Regions from separate parts of the Homo sapiens genome. Here all the other regions are linked to region 1. Evidence: promoter capture Hi-C in 16 types of primary human blood cells and fetal thymus (Javierre and others, 2016). All regions are on one chromosome and are shown on one strand. Each heading gives the region's core, a stretch centred on a gene start or on the middle of the fragment in contact. The rest is flanking DNA. Distances are from core to core; before and after follow the strand shown. Region 1 holds the start of ZNF470 (zinc finger protein 470). Region 2 overlaps LOC124904784 (a long non-coding RNA gene). Region 3 holds the start of ZNF329 (zinc finger protein 329). Region 4 overlaps ZNF329 (zinc finger protein 329). Region 5 holds the start of ZNF606 (zinc finger protein 606). Region 6 overlaps ZNF256 (zinc finger protein 256). Region 7 holds the start of ZNF586 (zinc finger protein 586).

Region 1 (4,221 bases), core at 1-2,500:
TGAAGTTTGGTGCTGATACTCCCAAAAGGTCTTAGAACTGTGTCTGGCACATAATAAACACTCATTAAACATTAGCTATTACTATAGCATGCAGGAAACTAAACAAGCACAGAACAATATGGCTAAAAATAGCCCTTCCTCCCCCTTTCTCTTTATTGGAGTGGGAGGCCAGAGGGGAGGGAGAGAAGCCCAAGGAATGGGGATATCTTCCGTTATTGACTAGAACGTGATTAAGCCATAGAAAGGCTGGAATGCCTCGGCATTTCTGGGTGAAGCTGTGAATCTCGCCTTCTTCCCAAATCCTACAGTGATAGATGGGACAAGGCTCTGACGGGTAAAAATCTAAATGCTGAGCTATTCCTTCAACAGCAGCAGAGTACCCAGAAGTAATGCTATAATGGGTAATATTACGGGTAGTGTTCTCTCCCATGGGCCCTTAGTGATATACCAAGGACCTGAGTCAGGTTATCTGGTTAGGTGTCTCTGGCCAAGTCAAGGTCCCTCCCTAACTAAACCCAGCTCCACTCTGACCCAAGGTGACCCTCCAAATCTTTCGACTTCCAGGTCCACTAGCCTTAGAAACGGGGGACATCCTCCTCCAGCACCTGAACCCCGAAAGACAGCACCCAAAACCTCAATGTCCACTCCGGCAGCCACATCCGTCATCTGTCACTCTTACCTGTGTACTCAGTCCCCATGGTCTTCGCTCCTCGCCGTCCTGTGGACATGGAGCCCTGTCCTGGGCTCTGCCCCTTCCAGATAGGGCTGACAGGAAATGCTTCAGCCGAGGCTGCCCCGCCCGGGCAACTTCCCCGGGCTCTAGGACTTTGCCCACACTGGGCTCTACGCAGTCGATACAGGGGAGAACGGGGTAAGCCTCCTCCGGCCGGGTTTCCTGCTCTTGGCCACTTAAAGTGCTTCACTCATTCCAACACACACCGCCTTCCGCACGCCGCCGGGCCATGCACGCAGGCGCAGATTCGCGGCCACGCACCGGACAGTCACACACCGGGCCGCCATCCCCGCGCGCGCTCGCCCCTCCTCAGCACAGCACCGCACGCTCACCACGTATGGGCACTCACAGCCACCAGGCCACACGCGCACGCTCACGCCCGCCGCCCACACAGGAACCAGGACACCGCCCCCGCCGCGCCCCAGTCCAGCCTCGGCCGCTGCCCCGCCCAGACCTCCCTTCTCCTCAGCAACCGGCGGGACGTGCACTCGCCCGGCTTTGGGTCCTTTCCGGAAGTGGGCGTGTCCTCCGCTGCAATAGCCCCTGGGAAGTGTAGTCCGGAACGGAGGCGGCGTTCAGAAATAGGGCGCTGGCTTTGCCAGGAGCGGCTCCTCTCCAAGCCTGGCGGTCACTGCCCTGTGTCCCCTTTTGGGCCTCTCCTGGTCCTCCTGGTTGGATTAGGAGGCCTCTCAGCCCGGAGTCTGGGTCGCCGAAGTACAGGCCCCTTCACTGAAGCGACCCACGGCGCAGGGGTTTCTGGAAGCCATCGCCAGGCTCCGAGTGTTCAGATGCAGCTGCCAGGCTCAGGACGCAGAGAACTGGCTTCCAGCTCGCAGGAGCGCCTGTCCGTGGTGGGTAGGGTCGCAGGCGTGGGGTGTGCAGGAGCAGTGGGACAGCACTGAAACGCAGTCGGTAAGGCGTAGCGGCTACCCTCTGGAGAGGAAAACCATGACAGGGCGGGGCTTGGGGCGCGGGCGGGGCCTACGCGATAGAAAAGTGAGGAGATTGGGATTTGTCTGCTTTGCACACTTGTGACTTTCTGATGGTGCGCGTGTGGAACCTGTTTTATTTCATGCCTACTAGTTACTGCTCTCTGATATACGGTACGCCCCTCACCTCCCCCCACCCCATTTTATCTCTCCCTGCTGGAAGGAGGGTTCCAAGAAGGCACACAGCTTCCGTCCTGTTCAGGGTTATATTCTCAGTGACTAAAACAGCACATAGTAGGTGCTTAGTTTTTTATTTTTATTTTATTTTTTAGGAAATCACGAAATCTAGCATTGCCAGTCTCACCATGACACAACATGTTATAGGCTGAATATGTCCTCCCAAAATTACTATGGTGAAACCCTAACCCCTAGTGTGATGACGTTAGGAGGTGGGACTTTGGGGAGGTAACTGGTTTTAGATTAGGTCATAAGGGTGATACCCTTATGATGGGGTCAGTGCACTTATTAAAAAAGAGGAAGGAGGGGTCTCCATGTTTACACAACCACCAAGCAAAGGCCATGTGAGGACACAGCAGGATGTAACCCATTTGCAAGCCAACGGGGCCCTCACCAAGAACTGAATGTGCCAGCACTTTAACTTCCCAGCCTCCAGAATTGTGAAAAATAAAGTCTCTTAGTCAAGTCACTTAGTCTATGATATTTTGTTATAGCAGCCCCAGCTGACCAAGATACAGCATCATAGATACTGGCTCACCAGAAACTAACTCACCCTCCCAGTCACACTCAATCACCCAAGGCCACACAGTGACATCTAGACTGGACTCTCCTGGATCCAATTTATGTCAGACATCATAAACAACATAATAAAGCCAAGTCTAGCTGTGAAGATACTTTAACTATGAAACAGCAAATATCATCTTAGAGCTTGTAACGTTTGTGGTTATTTGAGTTGGATGAAAATGATAATATTCTCATTTTAGCTCTGGCATATAAAGAGCTCGGAAGCCTTCATTCCCATCTTCACAACAACAAAATCATTCAACAAACTGAAAATCAACTTTTCTTAGATCCATCAGAGAACTGAAGATAGAAAGGTAACTGACACCCCAAAATCCCGAGAAAGAAAAATACATAAAATTACAGCCAAGATTAGCTTACTTGAAGCAGAAGCCACTGGAGTTATAAACTGGTAAAAACTTTTATTTTTTATAATTTTGATGAATTGCTGGAGGCTTAGTGTGGGCTAACTTGTGAGTTAAAAACTCCTAGGGGCCCAATCTTAGATGGGCCCCCACACTTTCGTGAATTTTACCTCCAGAAACCCTATCAAATTCTCTCAGTGAAGAATGGGGAAAAATCTCAGGTTTTTGGGCAAGGGGAGGAGAAAAGTAAGCACCACATTTTCCATAATAAACACCTGCACTCCAAGAAAAACTACTTACTAGAGTCTTGTTGGACCTTGGGGAGAGGCAATTGGCCAGCTCCAGTCCCTCTATAGCCTGTCTGTCTCAGTAAGGCAGGATTTTTGAAAGGCTAAGAAGTGCTTCTGAAGATCACAGTCCAAGGCCTCAAGCCCACTAGAAAAATAGTATTTAATAATAAGATTATAGAATGCTTCCCTCCCCACTGTACCTCACTGCCACACTAATGGGGCTCTGGTCAATAACAGTAGATTACAACAGAGAAAACTGCAAGGCACAGACTCTATTTAAGAAGGAGTTCTTAGGGAAGCCCACAGAAGGAGAAGCATCTTGGAAAAAGTAGACAACATGCAAGAACAGATGGGTAATGTAAGCAGAGAGATGCAAACTGTAAGAAGGAATCAAAAGGAAATCCTAGCAATTGAAAACCATTGTAACAGACATGAAGATTACCTTTAGTGAGCCCCTCAGACTAAGACACTCTGAGAAATGAATGGGTGAGCTTGAAGATATGTTAATAGAAATTTCCCAAACTGAAATACAAAGAGGAAAAAAAAAGAATGAAAAAAGAAAAAGAACAGAATATCCAAGAACCATGGGACAATTACAGAAGGTGAAATATATGCGTAACTGGAATACCAGGAGGGGAAGAGAGAAAGGAGAGAAAATATTTGAATAATGACTGAGAATTTTCTAAAATTAATGACAGGACACCAGGCCAGTGTGGTGGCTCATGCCTGTGATACATACCAGCACTTTGGGGGGCCAAAGTGGGAGGATTGCTTGAGCCCAGGAGATTGAGACCAGCCTGGGCAACATAGTGAGACCCCATCTTTAAAAAAATACAAAAATTAGCCGGGTGTGGTGCTGTGTAATTGTAGTCCCAACTACTCGAGAAGCTGAGGTGGGAGGATTGCTTGAGCAAGCCATTATCCTGCCACTGCACTCCCTCCTGGGCAACAAAGCAAGACCTTGTCTCTAAAAGCAAGAAAACAAACACCAAACCACAGATCTAGGAAGATCAGAGAACACAAAGCATTATCACAAGTCACCTTTTGACATTATCACCAGCACTATTCAGTCCTTTTAATTTCTTTCAATCCTTTTTGTTTCAGAT
Region 2 (4,221 bases), core at 871-3,370, 1.6 Mb before region 1:
TTTTTTATATATGTCTAAATATATAAATATATAATGTCCATATATAAAAATCCATCACACAGGTCAACAGAAAATATATTTCCAAAACCCTGTACCACTTCCTGGTTAATATCTCCCAGAGTTAACCACTATCCTGATTATCATCATAAGTTTTTTTTCTGTCCTCAAACTTCATATAAATGGAATCATATAGTCTATGGTTTTCTGTGTCAACATAATGTGTTAGAGATTCATCCAAGTTGCTGCATGTATCAGTAGTTAATGTTTGGTAAATTGCTGAGTAGTATTCCACTATGGATGTACCACATTTTGTTTATACATTTTATTATTGATGGACTGCTGGGCTGTATCCAGTTTTGGCCCCTTATGACTAATGCTTCTATGAGTGTCCTTTTAGATGTCTTTTGGGGACATGGCTCATACTTCCATTGTAAGAAATTACTATTATGTTCTCTTGGGCAGTTTTTCCAGAAAGAATACAAATTTTGAATGCTAACAGGTCTGAAAATGCTTACTCTCTCCTCATATGTGTGAATGATATATTTGCTGAGCATCAAATCCTGAAATCAGAGTCTTTGTGTTTCTGGAATCTTCACTTATCTTCTAGTGTCCAGGGTTTCAGAAGAGAAACCAATGCTGCTTATACATACCCTGTGCTCTTTGTAAGGGATTTGCAATGAAACTTGTGAAGTTTGCACTAGTTTTGGAGTATGGGTACTTCACCAGACTATGATGTCTTTTTAACCCTGCCAAGACATTGGACATGCCCTTAGAAATGTGAAGATACGTACAACTCATTTTTTTTATTTTTTTGAGATGGAGTTTTGCTCTTGTCACCCAGGCTGGAGTGCAATGGCACAACCTTGGCTCACTGCAACCTCTACCTCCCGGGATCAACTGATTCTCCTGCCTTAGCCTCCCAAGTAGCTGGGATTACAGGCATGTGCCACCACACTCAGCTAATTTTTCTATTTTTACTAGAGACAGGGTTTCACCATGTTGGCCAGGCTTGTCTCAAACTCCTGACCTCAGGTGATCCTCCTGCCTCGGCCTCCCAAAATGCTGGGATTACAGGTGTGAGTCACCGTGCCTGGCCAACATACAACTCTTTATGATGCTTCTATTCAAGTAGATAGAAGAATGCTATTGGCAAAGTATTAGCAAGTTAGTATAAAGCTCTCTGATTTGTTTGGAGTGATAATATTTGGATTATGCAGAAAAAAATTGATAGCATATCCTTCAGCCCTCATCTAGGACTATCATAAAATTATACACATAAGGATCCCCATGATGCTAAAAGGTGTATGATTCCTGCACCATTCTTCAAGGTTGACGGTTCTTTTATTCATACGTGATGTAGAAAAATAGATACGCTGTTGCCATATGATTCCTGCACCATTCTTCAAGGTTGACGGTTCTTTTATTCATACGTGATGTAGAAAAACAGATACGCTGTTGCCACTGATAACATTTATGGGCAACCCGCTTGGGTCCCCTTCCACACTGTGGAAGCTTTGTTCTTTCGCTCTTTGCAATAAATCTTACTGTTGCTCACTCTTTAAAAAAAAAAAAATTTACATGTGATTACCTATGACAACCATTTCTCTTCTTTTCTTTTCTTTTAGACAGGGTCTCGTTTAGTCACCCAGGCTGGAGTGCAGTGGTACCATCTCAGCTCACTGTAGCCTTGACCCCCTCAAGCAGTCCTCACTTCCCAAGTAGCTGGGACTACAGGAATGCACCACCACGCACAGCTAATTTTTGTATTTTTATTAGAGACGGGGTTTCTCCATGTTGCACAGGCTGGTCTTGGACTCCTGAGCTCAAGTGATCCACCTGCCTTGCCCTCCAAAAGTGCTGGGATTACAGGTGTGAGCCTCTGTGCCCAGCCATGATTATCTATGGCAACCATTTTTTTTTTTTTTTTTGAGATGGAGTTTTGCTCTGTTGCCCGGGCTGGAGGGCAGTGGTGTGATCTTGGTTCACTGCAACCTCCACCTCCTGGGTTCAGCTATTCTCCTGCCTCAGCCTCCTGTGTAGCTGGGATTACAGGCATATGGGAGACATTTCTTTTTCTTTTTCTTTTTTTCTTGTTTTTTTTGAGACGGAGTCTTGCTCTGTCACCCAGGCTGGAGTGCAGTGGCACGATCTCGGCTTACAGCAAGCTCTGCCTCCTGGGTTCACACCATTCTCCTGCCTCAGCCTCCTGAGTAGCTGGGACTCCAGGCGCCCACCACCACACCCAGCTAATTTTTTTTTTTTGTATTTTTAGTAGAGACGGGGTTTCACGGTGCTAGCCAGGATGGTCTTGATCTCCTGACCTCGTGATCCACCCGCCTCGGACTCCCAAAGTGCTGGGATTACAGGCGTGAGCCACTGTGCCCAGCCGCATATGGCCAGACATTTCTATGAGACATTGTTCATCAGGCCTAGACCCTGAGTCCCCATTAAATGGTGTTTCTATGGCAAATTAGGGACATATGTAGAATAGAACTGCTTATCCCTGCTGATCTGTGGCTGCAGGGAGTCACAAGTTTGCAGTCTTGTTACATTCAGATACTTAAGAGTTAAAAAATAACTGGTGGCTTTTGCCTCCTTTATCCCTGATGTCAAATAAAATGGAATTCCAACCAATAGCTTTTCCACATTGATCTTTTTTCAATGAGTTTTTCTAATTTGTTTGAATTTCCTGGTGTCAAATAAGGTAAAAGCCATGGTTGAAAGCTTGCCAATACTGACTGCATTCATAGTGTTCTCCAGTATGAGTCCTCTTACGTTCAATAATATGAGAACAACTCCTGAATGCTCTTCCACGCAAATTACATGTATGGGGTTTTCCTCAGTATGAGTCCTCTGATGTCACATCATAAGGGCTAGGCTACGTCTGAAGCCTTTCCCACGATGACTGTATCCATCACTTTGCTCTCCAGTGTGTCTTCTGTGATTTTTGAGTAGTGGAGGAGCAAAGTGTAAAACCTTTCCCTGAATGATTCCCTTCATAAGGTGTCTCTATAGATTCTTAGCTATAGGGTAAAAGTGTTCACTTCTTTAGAAGAATTTCCTAAATTCACTGCAAATATATAATTTCCCACAAGTATAAATTGTCTCATATTGAATAAGGTATAATTTGTGTCTACAGCCTTTGCTACAGCGATTACATTTATAGTATTGTTCTCCTGTATAAGTTCTGAAACATACTGAAAGAAATATTTCTTAATAAAGACTCTCCAACACTCAACACATTTGTAAGGTCTATTTCCTGAGAGAGTTTGCTCATACATCAGTGGGGTTGAGCTCTGTTTAAAGACTTCTTTACACATACTACATTTATATGGTCTCTCTCCAGTATGACTTCTCTGATGTCAGAAAGTATTTACCATAAACAGGGATTTCTCACATTCAGAACATCTGGAGGGTTTGTCAACTGTGTGAGTGCTCTCAAAACAAAGATGAGAGGAGCTCTGAATACACTTTTCCACATTCCTTACATTCAACTCAACTCTCTCTAACATGAATTCGCTTACATTGACTGAGACTTGTGCTACACTTAAAAAATTTACTACGTATATTTCATATATAAGGCTTTTCTACACTGAACTGTTTGCAAGTCTAAGAAGTTGAGTGTTTTGACCAAAAGCATTCCCAAAATCATAATTTTCAGGGGTTTTTCCCTGTGCATTTATGGTTTATTAAATCTGAATGTTGTTTTACAATGAGTCATGTATGTAGTGGTATTCATTGATAAGAATATTGTTTAGTGGGCCAGGCACGGTGGCTCACGCCTGTAGTCCCAACATTTTGAGAGGCCAACGTGGGTGGATCACAAGGTCAGGAGTTCAAGACCAGCCTGGCCAAGATGGCGACACCCCTGTCTCTACTAAAAATACAAAAATTAGCCAGGTGTGGTGGCGGGTGCCTGAATCCCAGCTACTTGAGAGGCCGAGGCAGAGAATTGCTTGAACCCAGGAGGTGAAGGTCGCAGTGAGCCAAGATCATGCCATTGCACTCCAGCCTGGGTGACAGAATGAGACTCTGTCTCAAAAAACAAAAACAAGGCCAGGCGCGGTGGCTCATGCCTGTAATGGCAGCACTTTGGGAGGCCAAGGAGGGTGGATCATGAGGTCAGGAGATCGAGACCATCCTGACTAACACGGTGAAACCCCGTCTCTACTAAAAATACAAAAAATTAGCTGGGTGTGGTGGCGCGCGCTTGTAGTCCCA
Region 3 (4,221 bases), core at 648-3,147, 1.6 Mb before region 1:
AGGTTTCACAATGTTTGCCAGGCTGGTCTTGAATTCCTGACCTCAAGTGATCCACCTGCCTCGGCCTCCCAAAGTGCTGGGATTACAGTTGTGAGCCACCGCGTCCGGTCTCCGACTGTTCTTTTAACCAGATACTGTTGGACTTTTCTCCATATGATCTTTAAGTTGTTTTATTCTGTGAGCTGGGGGCGGGGGGAGTCTTTGAATTGGAATTGCTATACTTTTGTTTAGTAGTTTTGTGAAGATTTTTTTTTTTTTTTTGAGACCGAGTACTAGGATTGCAGGCATGAGCCACTGTGCCCAGCCAATTTTTATATTTTTAGAGATGGGGTTTCACCATGTTGGCCAGGCTCATCTTGAACTCCTGACCTCAGGTGATCCCCCCAGCCCGGCTTCCCAAAGAGTTGGAATTACAGGCATGAGCCACTGTGCCTGGTCTGATACGGCCTTCATGGAGAAATTAAAAAAATACTTTCCATTCAGGAATAATATGTCAGTGTGTTCTGAACTTAACTTCAGGTCTGTTAATGAGGTTTTTGTATTTTCTTCATGAAGATCCTTTATTGCTTTTGCTAATTGATTTCCAAGTTGCTCCAACCATCACTATTGTGAGTGACAATTTAATCACTATTATGGCTTAGAATTTTTTTTCTAATTTTCATTTCAAAATTGTGAAGTATTTCAACCTGCGGAGAGGTTCGGAGAGTAATAGAATAATCTATAAATAATAAAGATGACACCCATGTATCATCGAGATTTTACCTGTGTTAACATGTAGTCAGATTTTCAGGTTTTGATTTGTTTTTTCCTATCAAGCATCACAGGTGTAACTGAGGTCTCCTTTGTCTCCTCCCCAACTCTTTCCCCTCAGTTGCCACTTTCTTGAGGTTGGACAATCTATCTGGTCCATGTTATTGTTACTTTACTACTTATGTATCAATCTCTGTATAACATATAGATTTTGTGTCTTTTATTTCCAGGTAAGTTGTATCATGTGGATAAGTGCACAGTTTACTTTTCGAACTGTTTTTGGAGAACTGTCTATCTTGTATATAAGTTAGTCCTTTTTTTTTTTTTTTTTTTTGAGACGAAGTCTCCCTCTTGTCCCCCAGGCTGGAGTGTGATGGTACGATCTCAGCTCACTGCAACCTCCGCCTCCCAGGTTCAAGTGATTCTCTTGCCTCAGCCTCCCGAGGAGCTGGGATTACAGGCGCCTGCCACCACGCCTAGCTAATTTTTGTATTTTTAGTGGAGACGGGGTTTCACCATGTTGGCCAGGCTGGTCTCAAACTCCTGACCTTAGGTGAGCCCAGTCCGTTTGTTTTAACCACCCCCTATTGCTCCGTTGCACATACCACAGTTTCTCTCTTCCCTGTCAGTAAATATTTAGGCTTCCCCATGCTAAAGTTTAAGAGAACCACTGAAAGAATGAAAATGTGTAGTTTTCATTTTCAACCGGCTATTGTTACTACAGAGGAAAGTTACTGGCTTTGTTTACATTTCTTAGATCTAGTCATTTTAACAAATTAGGCCTCCCAAAATGCTGGGATTACAGGCGTGAGCCACGCACCCAGTAAATAATTATATTGCCAATGAATAATGAGTGTACTTATTCTGAATTTTAACATTATTATCTCAAAAAAAGATTATAGATAAAGAAATATTTTAGGAAATTATGCAGTAAATAAAAGGAAGGCTCTATAACAAAAGAATGATAGCATCGGGTTAAAAATCAGAGGAGACCATAGGAGAAAGTAAATGCCTGCGCGTCCGCCCCGAGGCAAGTCCACGCCAGGGTAATGAATAACCCGGTACCCGCGGCCGCCCCAGCGTTGGGCGGGGGAAGCTCGGGGACTCCGCGCACGCGCACATCCTTGTCCCGGCAGCCGCGCAAGCGCAATCGCCCGGAACATGGCTGCCGCCGGCCGCCAACCGTAAGTGCCGACGCATCCCTGAGCCCTGCGCTGCCTCCGTTTCCTGCGGAGGGAAGTCTTGGCGGGTGGAGGTCCGCCGGGTCCTTGTGGGGCGGCGAGGGGCGCGTCCGCGGGTGGGTTTCACCTGGGTGGTGGGCATGTCGGGCCCGCTAGGGCGAGGGTCTGGCCAGGGGCGTAGTTCTCCTGGTGGGTGGGGACGCTCCGTGGCGATTGGGGTCACTCCTCTGAGGACGAGGTCGCTCCGGGGCTGGTCTGGACGCCCCCGCTCTTTCCTTAGCGTCACCCGTGAGTTCCGCGCTCGCATCTCTAGCCCGCCCTCCCATAGAGACTGTTTTGCCACGCCTGCTGGGTGTCCTGGTCCGTCTCCGGGGGTAACCCCCGAGTCTGCAGCTTTTCTGTCAGGTGTGAGGGGCAGTGTAGGCTTGGGTCGGCCTCCGGCTGAATTGGCGGCCGTGAGCCAGTGGGCTGAGCCGCTTCCCCTTGAGTCTCGAAGGTGTTAGATCACCTGTGTGTTTTTCCATTTGATATTTGCAAAATCATGTTTTACTGCAATTCTCAGTGAGGGCCGCATTTTTGCACGTGTTTAGTGACCATTTTGCTGTCTTTTCCCTTGGTTTAGTGGCATATTTCCTTTGTGCAGTCTTCCAGTCTCAATATTTTATGACATAAAATGTTGGTTTAGATAGAGAAGCTGAAAGACTTGTGCAGTGAACGACCCGGTTAACGTCTGCTGAACTTACTGTATCCCTTATCTTTCCTTCTGTCCATCCTTTCAGCCATTCATTAATCCACCTATTTTTGGAAACATTTCAAAGTAAGTTGCAGATATCACAACACTTCTCCCTCAAACACCTCACTATGCTTACCATGAATTAGAGTTCAGTAGTGCTTTTTTAAATTTTTTGAGCCAAAATTGACTTTCAGTGAAATGCACAGATATTCCCTGTACCATTGATGAATTTTGACAAATGCAACCTAAACCTTTATTAAAATTACCATCAGCCTGAAAAGGTCCTTTATTTTTTGCCAAGTTAAAAAATTTGGCTATAGGAACTTGGGCTTGTTGAAGTACGTTTTGAATACCCAGTTTTTGTCTGTTTTTTCTTTTTTCCCACAGCAAGTGACTTTCCTCCATTCTACTGCTTGTTTACCTCTCTCTTCACCCAACTTTTCATTTTGAAAAGTTCCGCATTTGCATAGAAGTTGCAGGAATAGTTTAACACTTCTAAAACCATCCAGATTCTAAAATTATTAACACTTTTTGCCACATTAGCTTTATCTTTATCTTCTCCCTGCCTGAGACACATGCATAGGTGTTACCAGAAAGGGGGTCCCGAGCTATAACCCAACAGAGGGTTCTTATATCTTGGGAAAGAAAATTCAGGGCGAGTCCATAGAGTAAAGTGAAAGCAAGCTTATTAAGAAAGTAAAGGAATAAAAAAATGGCTACTCCATAGATAGAGCAGCCCCAAGAACTGCTGGTCGCCCATTTTTATGGTTATTTCTTGATTATATGCTAAACAAGGGGTGGATTATTCATGCCTACCATTTTTAGGCCATATAGGGTAACTTCCTGATGTTTCCATGACATTTGTAAACTGTCATGGTGCTAGTGGGAGCAGGACCAGAGGTCACTCTCGTTGCCATCTTGGTTTTGGTGGGTTTTAGCCACCTTTACTGCAAGCTGTTTTATCAACAAGGTCTTTATGACCTGTATCTTGTGCAAATCTCCTGTGTTATCCTATGACCTAGAATGCCTTAACTGTCTGGAAATGCAGCCCAGTAGGTTTCAGCCTTATTTTACCCAGTCCCCATTTAAGATGGAGGTTTGCTTTGGTTCAAACGCCTCTGACATAGGGTTTTCTTTTTATATTTTACACACACTTGTACACACAGCAGGTGTTGCAGAGGCAGGTGTGATACAGACATATATTTACATACACTTAGTTTTTTTGGCTGAGTTACTGGAAGTATGTTATAGATATCATACCTCACTCTGAAATACTTCAGCCAGGATCTCATAAGAAAAGTAACGTTCTTATTTTTTAATTTTGTATTTTTTATAGAGATGAGATCTCACTATGTTGCCCAGACTGTTCTTGAACTCCTGGTCTTAAGCAGTCCTCCTGCCTTGGCCTCCCAAAGTGGTGGGATTACAGGTGTGAGCCACCACACCCAGCCAAAAAGAACATTTGAACATTTAAACAAAACTAGTGTTATTATCACACCCAAGTATACTTTTTTTTTTTCAAAAAACTAATTGTTTTTTATTTGTAATTTTTTTTTC
Region 4 (4,221 bases), core at 1,083-3,582, 1.6 Mb before region 1:
TTAATCCTTGTCTGTTTTTTATTTTTTGGTTTTTGTTTTTTGTTTTTAAGACATGGTCTCTTTTGCCCAATCTGGAATGCAGTGGCACAATTACAGCTCACTGCAGCCTCAGCCTTCTGTGTGGGCTCAAGTGATAACTCCCACTTCAGCCTCCCAGAGTGCTGGGATTACAGGCATGACCCCCAATGCTTGGCCATATGGTTTTTTGGTTAAGTTTTGTTGATCAAAGTCTGCCACACTTATGAAGGCATACTACATTATTTAAACTTTGACTTTATGTTGCAGCCTGTATCCTTCTGAAATGTAAATACACGCGCACACACACACACACACACACATATACACATATACATGTATATATATTTAAATTGCCTAGAATGTAGACATATATGTATGTATGTATTCTGAGGCAAGGGTCTATTTTCATTTTACCTTAAAAAATAGAAAGAAGGCTGGGCACAATGGCTCATCCCTGTATTTGCAGCATTTTGGGAGGCTGAGGTGGGATAATTGCTTGAAGTTTTTGAGATTGAGGCTTCAGTGAACCAAGATCACACCACTGCACTTCAGCCTGAATGACAGAGCGAGACCCGATCCCACCAAATGAATGAACGAATGAATGGACAACCAGTTGTCTTAATATTGTGAAGTCTGAATGGACAAGGATGGTGACAGGAAGATTGATATGCATGAAGACACATGCAACCATTTACAGAATGCCCTTCATCCCCTAGCCTTGGAGACTGCTTTGTACATGATCCAGTTTTTTTTTTTTTTTTTTTTTGAGACGGAGTCTTGCTCTGTGGCCCAGGCTGGAGTGCAGTGGCACGATCTTGGCTCACTGCAAGCTCCGCCTCCCGGGTTCGCGCCATTCTCCTGCCTCAGCCTCCCGAGTAGCTGGGACTACAGGCGCCCGCCACCACGCCTGGCTAATTGTTTGTATTTTTTTAGTAGAGACGGGGTTTCACCACGTTAGCCAGGATGGTCTCAATCTCCTGACCTTGTGATCTGCCCACCTCGGCCTCCCAAAGTGCTGGGATTACAGGCGTGACCACCGCGCCTGGCCGACATGATCCAGTTTTTATAACAACCATGCAGGGCAGTCTTTGACAGTTTTTGTTTTGTTTTGTTTTTTGAGATGGAGTCTCACTCTGCCGCGTAGGCTGGAGTGCAGTGGTGTGATCTCAGCTCACTGCAACCTCTGCCTACCAGGTTGAAGTGATTCTCCTGCCTCAGCCTCCAGAGTAGCTGGGACTACAGGCATGTGCCACCACGCCTGGCTGATTTTTTTTGTATTTTTAGTAGAGACGGTGTTTCACCATGTTGGTCAGGCTGGTCTTGAACTCCTGACTTCAAATGATCCACCTGCCTCCACTTCCCAAAGTGCTGGGATTACAGGAGTGAACCACTGTGCCCCGCCAGGTCATTGACAGTTCTAAGACTTAGACCCAGAACTTTTAGGTCACCAAGCCTGTGCTTTGTCCTATCCATGAATGCAGAACTTTGATGACAGAGCTGGGGTGAGAACTGTTCCTTCAGTGCTGTTGTAAGCTCATTGTGAAGTCAGAGCTTTGGAAATGTGTACTGATGGGCAGTGTGTGACAGGGACAAGAATGCAGTGGCTGGGATGGAATTCTAGGGGGAGCAGGGATGCTTGGCCTCTGGTCTCTCACATCTCAAACTAATCCTTTTGGTGATGATTTATCCCGAGGTCCATTCCTCCTGCCTGCTCTCTAGGAAGATGAAAATGCTACATGGCTCTTTTTGAATCTGTTCTTGGTTCCATTCCTTGGCTACGATTTTACCTCTTCCTTGTATAAATTTGAATTTAAAAGAGAAAACAAGTAAAAAAATACACATCTTTACACCTAGCCCATCATCATTGTCTGTTTCTCTTACAGATAAAGCTTCATATACCTAAGTCTGCATTTTTCTTCTTTTTGCAGTTTGGGATATGAGATTGAAAATGACGACTCGGAATTTTCCTGAGAGAGAAGTACCCTGTGATGTAGAAGTGGAAAGATTCACAAGGGAAGTTCCCTGCTTGTCCAGTTTAGGTGATGGTTGGGACTGTGAGAACCAGGAGGGACACTTGAGGCAATCAGCTTTAACTCTGGAGAAACCAGGGACTCAGGAAGCAATTTGTGAATATCCTGGTTTTGGGGAGCATTTGATTGCAAGCTCAGACCTTCCACCGTCTCAGAGAGTTCTGGCAACAAATGGTTTCCATGCACCTGACTCAAATGTTAGTGGTCTGGATTGTGACCCCGCCTTACCCAGCTATCCTAAAAGTTATGCAGATAAGAGAACTGGTGACAGTGATGCCTGTGGAAAAGGCTTCAACCATTCCATGGAAGTTATTCATGGAAGAAATCCAGTGAGAGAGAAGCCCTACAAATACCCTGAAAGTGTTAAGTCTTTTAATCATTTTACCTCTCTTGGTCATCAGAAAATAATGAAAAGAGGCAAGAAATCGTATGAAGGTAAGAATTTTGAGAACATCTTTACTCTGAGCTCATCGCTTAATGAAAACCAGAGAAATCTCCCTGGAGAGAAACAATATAGATGTACTGAATGTGGCAAATGCTTCAAACGGAACTCTTCTCTTGTTTTGCATCACCGAACTCACACCGGAGAGAAGCCTTATACTTGTAATGAGTGTGGAAAGTCCTTCTCCAAGAACTACAACCTGATTGTGCATCAAAGAATCCACACAGGAGAGAAGCCCTATGAATGCAGTAAATGTGGGAAAGCTTTCAGTGATGGCTCAGCTCTGACACAGCACCAGAGAATTCACACAGGCGAGAAACCTTATGAATGCCTAGAGTGTGGAAAAACCTTCAACCGAAATTCATCCTTAATTTTGCACCAAAGAACTCATACAGGGGAAAAACCATATAGATGTAACGAATGTGGGAAACCCTTCACTGACATCTCCCACCTTACAGTGCATCTCAGAATCCACACCGGTGAGAAGCCCTATGAGTGTAGCAAATGTGGAAAGGCTTTCCGGGACGGCTCGTACCTCACCCAGCATGAGAGGACTCACACTGGAGAAAAGCCCTTTGAGTGTGCAGAGTGCGGGAAATCCTTCAACAGAAACTCTCACCTCATTGTGCATCAAAAGATCCATTCTGGGGAGAAACCCTATGAATGTAAAGAATGTGGCAAGACTTTCATCGAGAGTGCGTACCTCATCAGGCATCAGAGGATTCATACTGGCGAGAAGCCCTATGGCTGCAACCAGTGTCAGAAACTTTTCAGGAATATCGCTGGCCTCATTAGGCACCAGAGGACTCATACTGGTGAGAAGCCCTATGAGTGTAATCAGTGTGGCAAAGCCTTCAGGGACAGCTCCTGTCTGACCAAGCACCAGAGAATTCACACTAAGGAGACCCCATATCAGTGTCCAGAATGTGGGAAGTCCTTCAAGCAGAACTCTCACCTGGCAGTACATCAGAGACTCCATAGCAGGGAGGGTCCCAGCCGGTGTCCTCAGTGTGGAAAAATGTTCCAAAAGAGCTCATCCCTTGTTCGACATCAAAGAGCACACCTGGGAGAGCAACCCATGGAAACATAATGGTTGGGGGCCACATGAGTCTTCCAGTTCACTCTCACTCCTGTGTTTAGGAGGCGTGTCTTAGATCTGACTCCTCTCTGGTCAGTAGAAAAGAATCCTTTAAGCTATCCAGTGAATTGATGAATGTGAGACATTGCTGAGCCACACTGTTAAGTCTGCTCATTGGGGAACTCCAGAGACAACTTAGGATGAGGGCAGAAAAGTCTTTGGGGATGATTCAGTCTGTACCAGACATGACAACACACACACTGGAATGAAATGTGCAAACATGGGGGTGACACCACAGAGAGAACCTGTGAATGCATTCAGAACATGATTGGAATGAAGAGCCCTGTAGTAGGGAGTTTCCACCTTGTACGTAAGCAAACACTGAATCAACTTTTTTTTTTTTTTCGGACAGAGTCTCACTGTGCAGTGGCATGATCTCCACTCACAGCAACCTCTGCCTCCCAGGTTCAAGCAGTTCTCCTGCCTCAGCCTCCAAAGTAGCTAGGATTACAGGTGCCTGCCACCATGCCTGGCTAATTTTTTCTATTTTTAGTAGAGACAGGGTTTCACTGTGTTGGCCAGGCTGGTCTTGAACTCCTGACCTCATGATCCGCCCACCTCAGCCTCCCAAAGTGTTGGGATTACAGGCATGA
Region 5 (4,221 bases), core at 971-3,470, 1.4 Mb before region 1:
TCTCAAAAGTGAACAGAGCTACCTCATCTCTCTTTAGAATATGAATTCTAGTCTTATTTTATATGAACATTGAGGTTTGTGTAGCAGGTATTTGGTGATTGCATATCTTAAAACTTGGCTTCTGTACTGTATGAGACTATCAGTTACGATACGAAGAAAATAAAAAGAGAGTAATACAATTGAGAATTAGGGAGATGAGTCACAGCTGGCTGTTACCAGGATGTGACATCTGTGCTGTGATCTGGATGAAAAAAAGAAAACCCTGGGGCTGTACAAGGAAGAAGATTCCAGGAAGAGGAAACAATACGTACAAAGGCCCTGAAGCAGGAATGGACTTACCCTGTTTGAGGAGTGGCTGGGGTCCAGAAATGGGCAGGAATGACAGGAGATGAGCTTGAGGGACTGAGGTGGGGTGTGGGATAGGACAGAGGCCAGTCCTGCTGAGTTTTCTAAGCTGTGAGCTGGAATTTGGATTTTACTTTAATTACTTGGGAAGCCAGTGCAGAATGTGAGGCAAGGACCTGATGTGAGATCCTAAAAGTGCCCTTGGCTGCCTGCTGGAGGATGAGCTGTAGGGGGCTGGAGTGGAAGTGGAGAGACACTCTCTTCTTACTTCTGTCACTCTTCCTTCTCCAGCCTCTCTTTCTCTGCTTGATCCTGAGATGGAAATTGTGGCTGTACCATCCATAGATTGCTTTCCTCTCAGTGCCCACTCTGACTGGGTTCACCTTCCTGCCAGCTGGGGCCTGTCCCAACACCTTGCCCCTTCCACCTTACCTCTCTCATGGTCCTCTCCCTCGAATTCAGCCTGTCCTACTTGAAATTTTCCTCTCCCTTGAATTCAGCCTGTCCTACTTGAACTTTTCCTCTCCCTCTGAAAGGGCTACTCCCCTTTGCCCACCCACAGTGAGTGCCAACACCACCCAACAACAAAAGCCCAACCCACAGGCCAGCTTTTTAAAATGATCCTCCATTACTAGTGGAAATATCTTCAAAATCTCTCTTGCCCACTGCTCACTCAAGTCTAGCTTCCTAAATGGCCATGCTTTCTTTGGTATCACCACCTACAGTCCCTCAGTCCCTTTTTTTGAGACAGAGTCTTGCCCTGCTGCCCAGGCTGGAGTGCAATGGCTTGATCTCGGCTTACTGTAGCCTCCGCTTCCCGGGTTCAAGCGATTCTCCTGCCTCAGCCTCCCAAGTAGCTGGGTACAGGTGCCCTCCACCAAGCCCGGCTAATTTTTGGTATTTTTAGTAGAGACGAGGTTTTATCATGTTGCCCAGACTGGTCTCGGAACTCCTGACCTCAGGCGATCCACCTGCCTTGGCCTCCCAAAGTGCTGGGATTACAGCTGTGAGCCACCGCGCCCGGCCCGTTTTTGTTTGTTTTAATGCCGGGTCTTGCTCTGTTGCCCAGGCTGAAGTGCAGTGGTGCGATCATAGCTCACTGCAACCTTGACCTCCCAGGCTCAAGCAATCCTTCCACCGCAACCTCCTAAGTAGCGGGGACTACAGGCGCGCGCCATCACACCGGGCTAATTTTTGTATTTTTTTTGTAGAGATGTGGTCTCGCTATGTTGCCCAGGGTGGTGTCGAACTCCTGAACTCAACTGATCCTCCCGCCACAGCTTCCCGAAGTGCTGGGACTACAGGAATGAGCCACCGCTCCCGAACCGCTCCATGCATATCGATAGAGGAAAACTCACAGGGTGCGTCGCTGGTAACCCATGCTCCCATAAAGCCTGGCCTCTGGAAAGAGACTTGGGAACGAGCCCTGACGTTCTCAGCCGTCGAGCTTCACAGAGAAGGGTAGCTCGAATTAGGTTCCTTATCTTAAAGAGAATAACAGCAGTCACTTTCTCACAATCTTGCGAACGCCAAATGGAAGGATCCCTCGAGAGCGCTGAGAACTCGCCGAGCTCCTCCCGGGAAACCCGGTACCACGAGGCGCCATTTTGCGGATGGGCAAACCGAGGCCCGCGGGGCCGCGACTTACCCAGGCCTTTTTGCAGTGGGAGGCGACGGTGGAGGAGGGTGGTCTGGGACCGGGACAACAAAGTCCATCCTGCCGCCGGCTTCGACGCAGGTGCCAGAAAGGTCCCAACCCCGCCCAGGCAGGGCGAGGCGGCGCGGCCCAGGAACCTGTCATGGCGGCGCCGCTGCCCGACGCCGGAAGTGCCCGCCTGGAACTACAGCTCCCAGCAGACCCCGCGGCGCGCTCCGGTCGACGCCGGGGAAGCAGCCGCCATTGTCCGCGGCTGAGGTGAGGCCTTTGCTCAGGCTGTGGGGCCGCCGTAGCTGCGGGGCTTGGGGGGTCAGGAGAGCCGGCTGGGAGAGGCGGCGTCAGGGTGGGTCCTGCGCCTGCCCTTTCCGCGCCGGCTTTGCGCCGTCGTTGCCGTCGGTTCTCCAGCCAGCAGCCTGCCTCCGGCCTCCCGCCTCCGGGCGTTCTTCGTTTTCTGGTCGGACGGGCCTGGGTGAACTCTGCTGCACGTCGGCTCCGCGGGCCTTTGTCCCCGAGGCCGCGCCGGGAGCTCCCAAGCGCACTCCTGGGCCGGACCTCGGCGCGGGACAAAAGCCAAACGCCCCAGGCGGGCAGACCCCGATCCTGCTGCGCCGCCTTCAAGGGGGACCGCCGGCCGCGAGCCAGGTGAGGCCGGGACGAGCTTTTGCAGCGTCGCGGCCGCGTCGGTCTTGAGGAGGAAATTTGGGTCGGGAGCTCTGGAAGCAGGTGATAAGGATGCTTCTGAGGCCATTGATGGGACGAATAACCCCGTTCGTTCCCCAGCCGTCGTTTCTCCCCCTGCCAGTTCACACAAAGCACTGTGAAGGACGTCAGACCTGGGTTGGAAACAGCTCCGGGTTCCCTTAAACATGCAGTGACGGCGGCGGTCACTGTCAAGTTGCAAATAATGGTGCAAAGTACGGTTTGCATTCTGCGTTTTCGCGCTGATTCCGGTGCTCCTGAGGCCCACTGTGTGTTCTAGTGCTTTATACACATACCCAGGAATCCATTCGAGAGGTTGCTGACTTGTACAAAGATCTGGAACCTGAGGAGTTAGGGGTCTGGGCGCCAGGCCCATCTCTAAGTCCTCCACACACACACAAGCTTAGGCTTAGTAAATCTTGGAGGTGAATTTTTTTTGGAGGTGGGATTAAATTTGCATAACATAATGTTCACTTTAAGCACTTAAAAGTGTGCAATTCACCGGTTTTATTGTATATTAATAAAGTTGTGCAATCATCCCCATTATCTAATTTTAGAACATTTCATCACCCCACAAAGAAACCCTTGTTCCCCTTAAGCAGTCACTCCCCATTTCATTTTTCCCCCAGCTCTAGGCAACCACTAATATATGAGGATTGCAAGTTGATTTTACAATAATTGTCAGATTAATCCAAAAGTTCCATCTGTGTTGTGACTGGCTGTCTCTTGGGAATAGCTGACAAATTTGTACCCTCTCATTCAGGATCATGCTCTTTTTTCCAGCTTATGCAAATTACCTTTCATTTCTCTCCAGGAATTGTGTTACTTTTTTGACATGTAAATTCTCTTTTCTTACGATGCTCCTTACAAGTTTTTTTGTTGCTTCGGTGGATGGATTCCCTTCTTTGTTCCCACTTGGTCTTCTGTGAGAAAGGACTAGTTTTGTCTTTTTTCACTTTTGTCACTAGGTTGGGATTTGCTGTGTTCCTGGGCAGGTGCCTGGTCAATCAGTCCTCGGGATGGCAGCCATCAACCCGTGGGCCTCCTGGGGTGAGTCCAAGTTGTGTTTCTCCTGGGCCTCCCCTATCATTAGCTGCTGCAGTCATGGGTCAGAGCTGGTGATGGGCTGAGGACTTTTGAGGATGGAAGGGGGTCTGTCTATCTTGGTACAAAATTAGAACTGATTGGTGGTAAAGGAGGAAAATTGTTGGCATAAAAGACACTAACTTTTATGTTTTATAGTCATCTCCTGAGAGGTGTCATTAGTTTTAAGGGATTTTTCTGGTGGTTTGTGGGGTTTCCTAAACAACAGTGATACATATAATAAAATATTGTCTCTACTGCTCTCATATATATTTTTACCTTTATTGTTTTTACTTATATAGCATTGGTTGGTAATTTTAAAACGGTGTTAATTAATAGTGACTCACCTGTGCATTGCCTGTGTGAATCCAGCTTATGTTGCATTTTTTTTACACACCCTTGGGCTCTGTTTATGGAATTTTGTAGTGCCCATTAGC
Region 6 (4,221 bases), core at 836-3,335, 1.4 Mb before region 1:
AATGTGGAAAATCCTTTAGCCAGAGCTCTAACCTCACTAATCACCAGCGAATTCACAGTGGGGAAAGGCCTTATGAGTGTAGTGACTGTGGAAAATTTTTTACCTTCAACTCCAACCTCCTAAAACATCAGAACGTTCACAAGGGATAAAGGTTAGGTAACACACATAGGGCTGTTACGGACTGAGAAGTGTCCCTGCAAAATTCACAGACATAAATAAATAAATACGTATTTTCAATAACCATGTTTTATATTTAGTATATGTTCTCTGAATTTTGTTTTATACAAATAAGTTTATATGTGTACATACTACTTTGTCTCATATCCACACAGAAAACCAAATGGTTTCTTTTTTTAAAAAAATTCTTTGTGTTTAAATGGACAAATTATAATTGTACATGTTCCTGGAGTACATAGTGATGTTTTGATACCTATAACTTAGAGTGATCAGAGTAATTAGCATATCCATCACCTCAAACATTCGTCATTCCTTTATATTGGGAACAGTCAGTCTCAATTGCCATTCTCCTAACAACTTGAAATTATATATTATTAACTTTAGTTCTCCTGTAGTGGTATAGAACACTAGAACTTATTCCTCCTGTCTAGTTGTAATTTTGTAGCTTGTAACCAATCTTTGTCTATTCCTGCCTACCCACTACCCTTCCCAGCCTCTAGTATCCTCTGTTCTACTTTTTACTTCTAAGAGATCAACTTTTTTTTGTGGGGGTGGGGGACAGTCTTGCTTTGTCTCCCAGGCTTTTTTTTTTTTTTTTTTTTTTTTTTTTTTTGAGATGGAGTTTCACTCTTTTTGCCCAGGCTGGAGTGCAGTGGCATGATCTTGGCTCACCGCAGCCTCTGCCTCCTGGGTTCAAGCGATTCTCCTGCCTCAGCCTCCTGAGTAGCTGGGATTACAGGCATGCACCACCACCCCGGCTAATTTTGTATTTTTAGTAGAGACAGGGTTTCTCCATGTTGGTCAGGCTAGTCTTGAACTCCCGACCTCAGGTGATCCACCCGCCTCAGCCTCCCAAAGTGCTGGGATTACAGGCGTGAGCCACCGCACCCAGCTTTTTTTTTTTTTTTTTAAAGCTTCCACATATGAGTGGGAATGTGCATGTTTATGTTCCTGGCTTATTTCACTTAAATAATGTCCTCCATTTCCATCCATGTTGCCTCAGGTGATAGGATTTCATTCTGTTCTTTGAATAGTATTCCTTTGTGTGTATAAACCACATTTTCTTTATCCATTTATCTGTTGTTGGACATCTAGGTTGATTCCATATTTTGGCTATTGTGAATAGTGCTGCAGTAAACGGGGTGTAGATGTGTCTCCAATGTGATGATTTTCTTTCCTTTGGATAAATTCCCAGTAGGGGGATTGCTGGATGATATGGTAGTTGTGTTTGTAGTTTTTTGTTTTGTTTTGTTTTGTTTTTTGAGACAGAGTCTCACTCTGTTATCCAGGCTGGAGTGCAGTGGTGTGATCTTGGCTCACTGCAACCTCCGCCTCCCAGGTTCAAGCAATTCTCCTGCCTCAGCCTCCTGAGTAGCTGGGATTACAGGTGCGTGCCACCACCCCTGCTAATTTTTGTATTTTTAGAAGAGACGGGGTTTCACCATGTTGGTTAGGGTGTTCTCGAACTCCTGACCTCGTGATCCGCCTGCCTCAGCCTCCCAAAGTGCTGGGATTACAGGCGTGAGCCATCGCGCCTGGCATATTTGTAGTTTTTAGAGGGACCTCAATACTGTTCTCCATAATGGCTGTACTGGTTTGCATTTGCACCACCAGTGCATGAGTTCCCTTTTCTTGTATTTTGTTGGGTTTTTTTTTTTTTTTGAGATGGAGTCTTTCTCTGTCGCCCAGGCTGGAGTGCAGTGGCATGATCTTGGCTCACTGCAACCTCCGTCTCCCGGGTTCAAGCTATTCTCCTGCCTCAGTCTCCTGAGTAGCTGGGATTATAGGCACGCACCACCACGCCTGGCTAATTTTTGCATTTTTAGTAGAGACAGGGTTTCACCACGTTGGTCAGGCAGTCTCGAACTCCTGACCTCGTGATCCACCCAGCTCGGCCTCCCAAAGTGCTGGGATTACAGATGTGAGCCACCGCACCTGGCCATTAGTTCCCTTTTCTCTGCATCCTTGCCAGCGTCTGTTTTTGTCTTTTTGATAATAATTATCCTAAACGGGGAGAGTGATACCTCATTGCGGTTTTGATTTGCATTTCCCAGATAGTGATGAGTGTGTTTTAATATATTTTTGACCGTTTGTATGTTGTCTTTTGAAAAATGCCTATTCAGATCGTTTGACATTTTTAAATTGGATTGTTTGAGGGTTTCTTTGCTGTTGAAATACTTCAGTTGCTTGTGTATTGTATTCTGGCTCTATTTTTTTTTGAGACGGAGTTGCTCTGTTGTCCACGCTGGAGTGCAGTGGCACGATTTCAGCTCACTGCAACCTCTGCCTCCCGGGTTCAAGCAATTCTCCTGCCTCAGCCTCCCGAGTAGCTGGGATTACAGATGTGCGCCACCACACCCACCTAATTTTTGTATTTTTAGTAGAGACGGGTTTTTGCCATGTTGGCTAGGCTGGTCTCAAACTCCTGACCTCAAGTGATCTGCCCACCTTAGGCTCCCAAAGTGCTGGGATTGCAGGCATGGCCACTGCATCTGGCCTCTTTCTTGATTCTTGATTACACTGTCACTGAGTGGGTTCTACATCAGAAAAAGATGAATAGGCCAGGTGTAGTGGCCGAATCCTATAATGCCAGCACTTAGGGAGGCCGAGGCAGGAGGATTGCTTGAACTCAGGAGTTTGATACCAGCCTGGGCAACATGGCAAAACCACATCTCTCAAAAATTAGCTGGTTGTGGTGGTGCATGCCTATAGTCCCAATTACTCCTGAATGCTGAGATGGGAGGATCACTTGAGCCTGAGAGGTTGAGACTGCAGTTGAGCCTTGATCATGCCACTGCGCTTCAGCCTTGGCAACAGAGTGAGACGCTGTCTCAAAAAGGGGAGAAAAAAATAGAATGTGGAGATAAGCAGATTTCAAATGTGAAGTGAAAAAGAAGCTTTTCATTGTTCAAACCATATTGCTAAGTGAGAAAAAGTACAGATGTGTATAGAATCTATGACTTTTTTCCTATAAGATGAAAAACTTGTAACATAATTGACACACAGAATAATGAAGAAAGGGAGACACAATTCTATGAGGATAATACTATACTGCAGATTTCACCTTCTGTTTTTACTTATTCATTAAATTATTTATTTGGAGACAGAGTCTTGCTCTGCTGCCCAGGCTGGCCTCAAACTCCTTTGCAGAAGTGATCCTCCCTCTAAGCCTCCCAAGTAGGTAGGTGAACAGGCACAATTTTTCTCCACCTTGGTATTGTTCAATGTTTTTAATAAAGAAAAAAAAATCTCAATGACAAAACCAACAAGGGGGACATTTTTAATCACATGCTGACCTTAATTCCATCTCTTCGTAGACATCACTGTTAAAACTTCTGGGCCGGGCGAGGTGGCTCACACCTGTAGTCCCAGCACTTTGGGAGGCCACCTCGGGTGGATCACCTGAGGTGAGGAGTTTGCGGCCAGCCTGGCCAAAATGGTGAAACCTTGTGTCTACTGAAAATACAAAAATTAGCTGAGTGTGGTGGCAGGCACCTGTAATCCCAGCTACTTGGGAGGCTGAGGCAGGAGAATGAATTGCTTGACCCAGGAGGAGGAGGTTGCAGTGAGCTGAAACTGTGCCATTGTACTCCAGCCTGGACAACAAGAGTGAAACTCCTTCTCAAAACAAACAAACAAACAAACAAACACCTGTAAAGTCAGCTGGGAGCAGTGACTTATGCCTGTAATGTCAGCATTGTGGGAGAAGGAGGCAGGCAGGTCAGAGGTCAAGAGTTTGAGACCAGTCTGGCCAACATGGTGAAACCTTGTCTCTACTAAAAATACAAAAATTAGCTGGGCGTGGTGGCAGGCATCTGTTATCCCAGCTACTTGGGAGACTGAGGCAGGAGAATCGCTTGAACCCGGGAGGTGGAGGTTGCAGTGAGCCAAGATGGCGCCACTGCACTCCAGTCTGGGACAGAACGAGACTTTGTCTCAAAAAAAAAAAAAAAAAAAAAGAAAGAAAAACTTCTGTGAAGTGTAAATTTTTTTCACCATCCACTCATGTTTCAATTGACCTATTTCTGTCATCGCAGTTATTAG
Region 7 (4,221 bases), core at 1,199-3,698, 1.2 Mb before region 1:
CAGGCTGGGCACGGTGGCTCAAGCCTGTAATCCCAGCACTTTGGGAGGCCAAGGCGGGTGGATCACGAGGTCAGGAGTTCGAGGCAGCCTGGATAATATGGCGAAACCTAGTCTCTACTAAAAATACAAAAATTAGCTGGGTGTGGAGGCGCGCGCCTGTAATCCCAGCTACTTCGGAGGCTGAGGCAGGAGAATCGCTTGAACTCAGGAGGCGGAGGTTGCAGTGAGCCAAGATTCCACTATTGCACTCCAGCCTGGGCAACAGGTCCAGACTCCATCTTGGGAAAAAAAAAATTGACTTGCCCCTCTAAAAAACACAAATCCAGATCTAGCCACATTGCCTAAGCCACAACTCTAGTCCATTAATCCTCACCTCGACTAGGGCAGTAGCTTCCAGTTTGATCTTCCTCCTCCCTCAACCCCACAGTCTGTTGCCCACTCAGTAACCAGACAGCGCCTATTAAGAAATTGGTAACATCACCTCACCCCTCTAGTTTCACTTCTAAGTAAGTATTTGCACACCCCAGTATCAGTTCCTGGGTGAACCCTCCACATGTGTTACATTAGTTGACAGACATAGCAACAACTCCCCATAACCTATGTCACTGATGTAGGTTTGGGGTTTGAGGTTTTTCCAAGATCCCCAGATTGAAGGACCGGAGAAATGGCACTTAAGTGTCCTAGGAGGTGCGGTAGTTCCTGCTTGGCATCCCAGCACTTTGGGAAGCCGAAGCAAGAGGACTGCTTGAGCCCAAGGGTTCGAGACTAGCCTGGGCAACATGGCGAAACCCCATCTCTCTCTCTCTCTTTTTTTTTTTTTTTTCAGACGGAGTCTTTCTCTGTCGCCCAGGCTGGAGTGCAGTGGCGCGATCTCGGCTCACTGCAACCTCTGCCTCCCGGGTTCAAGCGATTCTCCTGCCTCAGCCTCCCAAGTAGTTGGGACTACAGGTGTGTGCCACCAGGCCTGGCTAATTTTTTGTATTTTTAGTAGAGGGGGGATTTCACCGTGTTAGCCAGGATGGTCTCAAACTCCTGACCTCGTGATCCGCCCGCCTCGGCCTCCCAAAGTGCTAGGATTACAGGCGTGAGCCACCGCGCCCGGCCGTGAAACCCCACCTCTACTAAAAATACAAAAAGCCAGTTACTCGGGAGACTGAGATGAGAGGCTCTCCTGAGCCCGGAGAGGTCGAGGCCGTGCTGCGCCGTGATCGCGTCACCGCAACCCAGCCTGGGTGTTGAGTGAGAACCCGTCGCCGAAAAAAAAAAAAGATGCCAAGATCTAGACATGTGGGATAGGATGAGGACCAGTGAAGGACTAGAGCATCCCCTACTTCCTACTGTGGATTCTGTAAGTGCTTCTGTAGCCATGAGGTGTGCCAAAAGGCAGGGCTTTCACAAATGTGTCTGTGCTCGGATTTGATAGACTCAGGCTTCTCTGTAAGCTTTTTTTGGCCCTGCAGCCAGATGACTTCAGACTGAGTCTCTAATCTTGTGGCCCAGTGCTCAATGTCACCTCTCAATGATTCAACCTCTCAATGTCCTCATCACTGCCTTCAACTCTGTTCTTCCTTCGAACATCTTTTGGGAATCGCAACTCTAACACAGATTTCCTCCTTTGTTCAAAACTGTCCATGGCTTTTAGCGTCCTCACAGTCAAAGTTCAACCCTCAGCCTGGTACTGAAGAAACAACTCCGCCTCGGCCAGGCGCGGTGGCTCACGCCTGTATTCCCAGCACTTTGGGAGGCCGAGGTGGGCGGATCACCTAAGGTCAGGAGTTCGAGGCCAGCCTAGCCAACATGGTGAAACCCCGTGGTGGCGCATGCCTGTAATCCCAGCTACTCGGGAGGCTGAGGCAGGAGAATCGCTTGAACCGGGGAGGTGGAGCTTGCAGTGAGCCGAGATCGCGCCACTGCACTCCAGCCTGGGCGACAGAGTGAGACTCCGTCTCAAAAAAAAAAAAAAAAAGAAATAACTCCGTATCACACTTCTTTCCCAGTAGACACACGATGTCCCCGTGTTCCGCATCCTCCTGCCTCAGTCGCGCCTGCAGGCCTTTGCCCTCCGCCAGTCTCGCTCTGCCGACCGCATCAACTGGGTGTCGGAAACAGGGATCCCACCCGCCGGCGCCTCTCCGTCCCTGACAGAGGCCTGGGCTGCAGGGACGCGAGGAGGCGGCCCTCACGATCAGGGGCCTCAGGGTCTGGGTGGGTAGGGTGGGTAAGGCCCGGAGGTCGCAGCGCTCACCTGAGCAGGCGCCCTCAGAGCGGCTGCTGCCGCCATGACTCTGGGCGGGGGGGGAACGCGGGCTCGGCGGTGTTCCTGTCGTTGTCCTGTCCCGGGTCGCGACCAGCGGCGTCGCCGAACCTCAGATCCGCCTGTGTGCAATGGCCACAACCACTCCTCCCGAGCTCGTCCAGACCCAGCATCGCCGGATGGACCTGACAGGCCAAAATGGCTGCCACGGCTAGGACGCCGGAAGTCCTGGCTTGACTTTACGTGCCCCGGCAATGGCACGGCTTCTCTGAAGCTTCATTGGCTCAGCCACGTTACCATTTCGCAGGGCGGATTCTGGGTAATGTAGTTCCCAGACATGGGCAGCGCTTAAGGTGGCTTTCTTCCGACTTTCCGAAGAAAGGGGCAAGCTCCACTGCGAGGGGCGCTAGGAAATGGCGACTCCAGGTCCAGATGCGGAGGAGGGTCTCCCATCTTAGAAGAGGCCATACGCACATTTCTGGGGGTACTGTGTGCAACTGATTGCCCGCGTGTTTGGAGACTTCTTATTTCAGAATTTGTGATGCTCGGCTTCTTCCTTTTTTTTTTTTTTTTGTCTTTTTTTTAAGACATAGTTCTCTCTGTCACTCAGGCTGGGGTGCAGTGGTGTGATCTTGGCTCACTGCAGCCTATGCCTCCCGGGTTCAAGCGATTCTCGTGCCTCAACCATCCGAGTAGCTGGGATTACAGGCGTGTGCCACCATACCCTGCTAATTTTTGTATTTTTAGTAGAGACGGGGTTTCCTCATTTTGGCCAGGCTGGTCTCGAACTTCTGGCCTCAAGTGATCTGCCTGCAATGGTCTACCGAAGTGCTAGGATTACAGGCGTGAACCACCGTTCTCAGCCCATTAGCAACACTTTTATTTATATCTTTAACCTACAGATTCCTCTAGAAATCTGATATCAACATCAAAAAGCTAATGAGACAAATGCTATTATGTTACAGGACAATGGCTGCGGTGTTCAAACATGGAGTATGTATGCATGAGAGAAGAGAGAGACCCTCTCACATTGTTTTATATTCAGTAAAAACAACAAGGAAGTAAAACCAAAGACAGGCAACCCCGCGCCAGGCCCGAAACCAGGCCTAGGCCCGCCTGGCCTAAACCCAGTAGTTAAAAATCAACTTATGATTTAGAAGCCGATGTTATTCATAGATTCCTTAGATTGTATAGAAGAACATTGTGAAACTCCCTGCCCTGTTCTGTTCCTCCCTGACCACCGGTGCATGCAGCCCCTGTCACATACCCCTTGCTTGCTCAAATCAATCACGACCCTTTCATGTGAAATCTTTAGTGTTGTGAGCCCTTAAAAGGGACAGAAATTGTGCACTCCGGGAGCTCAGATTTTGAGACAGTAGCTGGCCAATGCTCCCAGCTGAATAAAGCCCTTCCTTCTGCAACTCGGTGTCTGAGAGGTTTTGTCTGCGGCTCGTCCTGCTACATGCACAGGGTGCTTTTACACTGAGATATTTCAAGTGCCTTAAATCCATGCGTTCACCTCTTTGCTGGCAAGTGCTTATCATTGTCAGTGGCATTGGAATCAGAGTGACTCCATCTTGAAAATGGGCTGGATAAAGTAAGGCTGAGAAATACTCGGCTGCATTCCCAGGTTAGGCATTCTTAGTCACAGGATGAGATAGGAGGTTGGCACAAGATGCAGGTCACAAAGACCCTGCTGATAAAACAGGATGCAGTAAAGAAGCTGGCTAAAACGCACCAAAACCAAGATGGTGATGAAAGTGACCTGTGGTCATCCTCACTGCTCATTATACGCTAATTATAATGCATTAGCATACTAACTCCCGCCAGCGCCATGACAGTATACCAATGCCCTGGCAATGTTTGGAAGTTACCCTATATAGTCTAAAAAGGGGAGGGAACCTCAGTTCTGGGAAATCTCCACCTCTTTTTTTTTTTTTTTTTTTGAGATGGAGTCTCGCTCTGTC

The links. Contacts are between HindIII fragments. The CHiCAGO score rates a contact against its expected background, and 5 or more counts as called.
Region 2: a fragment that was not itself captured here is called in contact with the fragment with the promoter of ZNF470 in region 1 in 2 of 17 cell types (fetal thymus and activated CD4 T cells); the score reaches 6.9 in fetal thymus.
Region 3: the fragment with the promoter of ZNF329 here is called in contact with the fragment with the promoter of ZNF470 in region 1 in 10 of 17 cell types (non-activated CD4 T cells, total CD4 T cells, naive CD8 T cells and 7 more); the score reaches 11.2 in non-activated CD4 T cells.
Region 4: a contact is called between a fragment that was not itself captured here and the fragment with the promoter of ZNF470 in region 1, in 4 of 17 cell types (non-activated CD4 T cells, naive CD8 T cells, naive CD4 T cells and 1 more). The highest score is 9.5, in non-activated CD4 T cells.
Region 5: the fragment with the promoter of ZNF606 here is called in contact with the fragment with the promoter of ZNF470 in region 1 in 1 of 17 cell types (naive CD8 T cells); the score reaches 5.1 in naive CD8 T cells.
Region 6: a fragment that was not itself captured here is called in contact with the fragment with the promoter of ZNF470 in region 1 in 1 of 17 cell types (non-activated CD4 T cells); the score reaches 6.6 in non-activated CD4 T cells.
Region 7: a contact is called between the fragment with the promoter of ZNF586 here and the fragment with the promoter of ZNF470 in region 1, in 2 of 17 cell types (non-activated CD4 T cells and activated CD4 T cells). The highest score is 9.6, in non-activated CD4 T cells.

What each region holds. Positions count from the first base shown.
Region 1 is chr19:56,564,497-56,568,717 of GRCh38, reverse strand. It overlaps ZNF470 (zinc finger protein 470), which reads right to left and starts at 1,250. Exons shown (of 6, transcript NM_001001668.4): 1 at 680-1,250. It overlaps ZNF470-DT (ZNF470 divergent transcript), which reads left to right and starts at 697. Exons shown (of 2, transcript XM_047439806.1): 1 at 697-1,645. The coding sequence starts at 697. The coding sequence ends at 1,635. RefSeq lists enhancers at 811-920, 1,301-1,510, 1,521-1,570. The HindIII fragment of the contact is 7,993 bases long and covers 1-4,221 here.
Region 2 is chr19:58,165,533-58,169,753 of GRCh38, reverse strand. The region is part of intron 1 of LOC124904784 (a long non-coding RNA gene); the gene reads right to left. Among named protein-coding and RNA genes, the nearest start is that of ZNF274, 15 kb to the left of the region's middle. The HindIII fragment of the contact is 1,212 bases long and covers 1,515-2,726 here.
Region 3 is chr19:58,148,465-58,152,685 of GRCh38, reverse strand. It overlaps ZNF329 (zinc finger protein 329), which reads left to right and starts at 1,897. Exons shown (of 4, transcript NM_024620.4): 1 at 1,897-1,934. RefSeq lists an enhancer at 1,761-1,820. The HindIII fragment of the contact is 7,703 bases long and covers 1-3,350 here.
Region 4 is chr19:58,127,237-58,131,457 of GRCh38, reverse strand. ZNF329 (zinc finger protein 329) reads left to right here. Exons shown (of 4, transcript NM_024620.4): 4 at 1,947-4,221. The coding sequence starts at 1,955. The coding sequence ends at 3,580. Among named protein-coding and RNA genes, the nearest start is that of ZNF329, 21 kb to the left of the region's middle. The HindIII fragment of the contact is 846 bases long and covers 1,910-2,755 here.
Region 5 is chr19:58,000,819-58,005,039 of GRCh38, reverse strand. It overlaps ZNF606 (zinc finger protein 606), which reads left to right and starts at 2,220. Exons shown (of 7, transcript NM_001348022.3): 1 at 2,220-2,644; 2 at 3,670-3,751. The coding sequence starts at 3,721. It overlaps ZNF606-AS1 (ZNF606 antisense RNA 1), which reads right to left and starts at 2,146. Exons shown (of 4, transcript NR_036508.1): 1 at 1,994-2,146; 2 at 1,704-1,829; 3 at 340-657. RefSeq lists an enhancer at 1,869-2,288. The HindIII fragment of the contact is 14,498 bases long and covers 1-3,105 here.
Region 6 is chr19:57,936,852-57,941,072 of GRCh38, reverse strand. ZNF256 (zinc finger protein 256) reads left to right here. Exons shown (of 3, transcript NM_005773.3): 3 at 1-240. The coding sequence ends at 149. Among named protein-coding and RNA genes, the nearest start is that of ZNF418, 3.6 kb to the right of the region's middle. The HindIII fragment of the contact is 1,983 bases long and covers 1,094-3,076 here.
Region 7 is chr19:57,767,903-57,772,123 of GRCh38, reverse strand. It overlaps ZNF586 (zinc finger protein 586), which reads right to left and starts at 2,448. Exons shown (of 3, transcript NM_017652.4): 1 at 2,246-2,448. The coding sequence starts at 2,281. RefSeq lists enhancers at 2,214-2,463, 2,185-2,724. The HindIII fragment of the contact is 1,086 bases long and covers 1,445-2,530 here.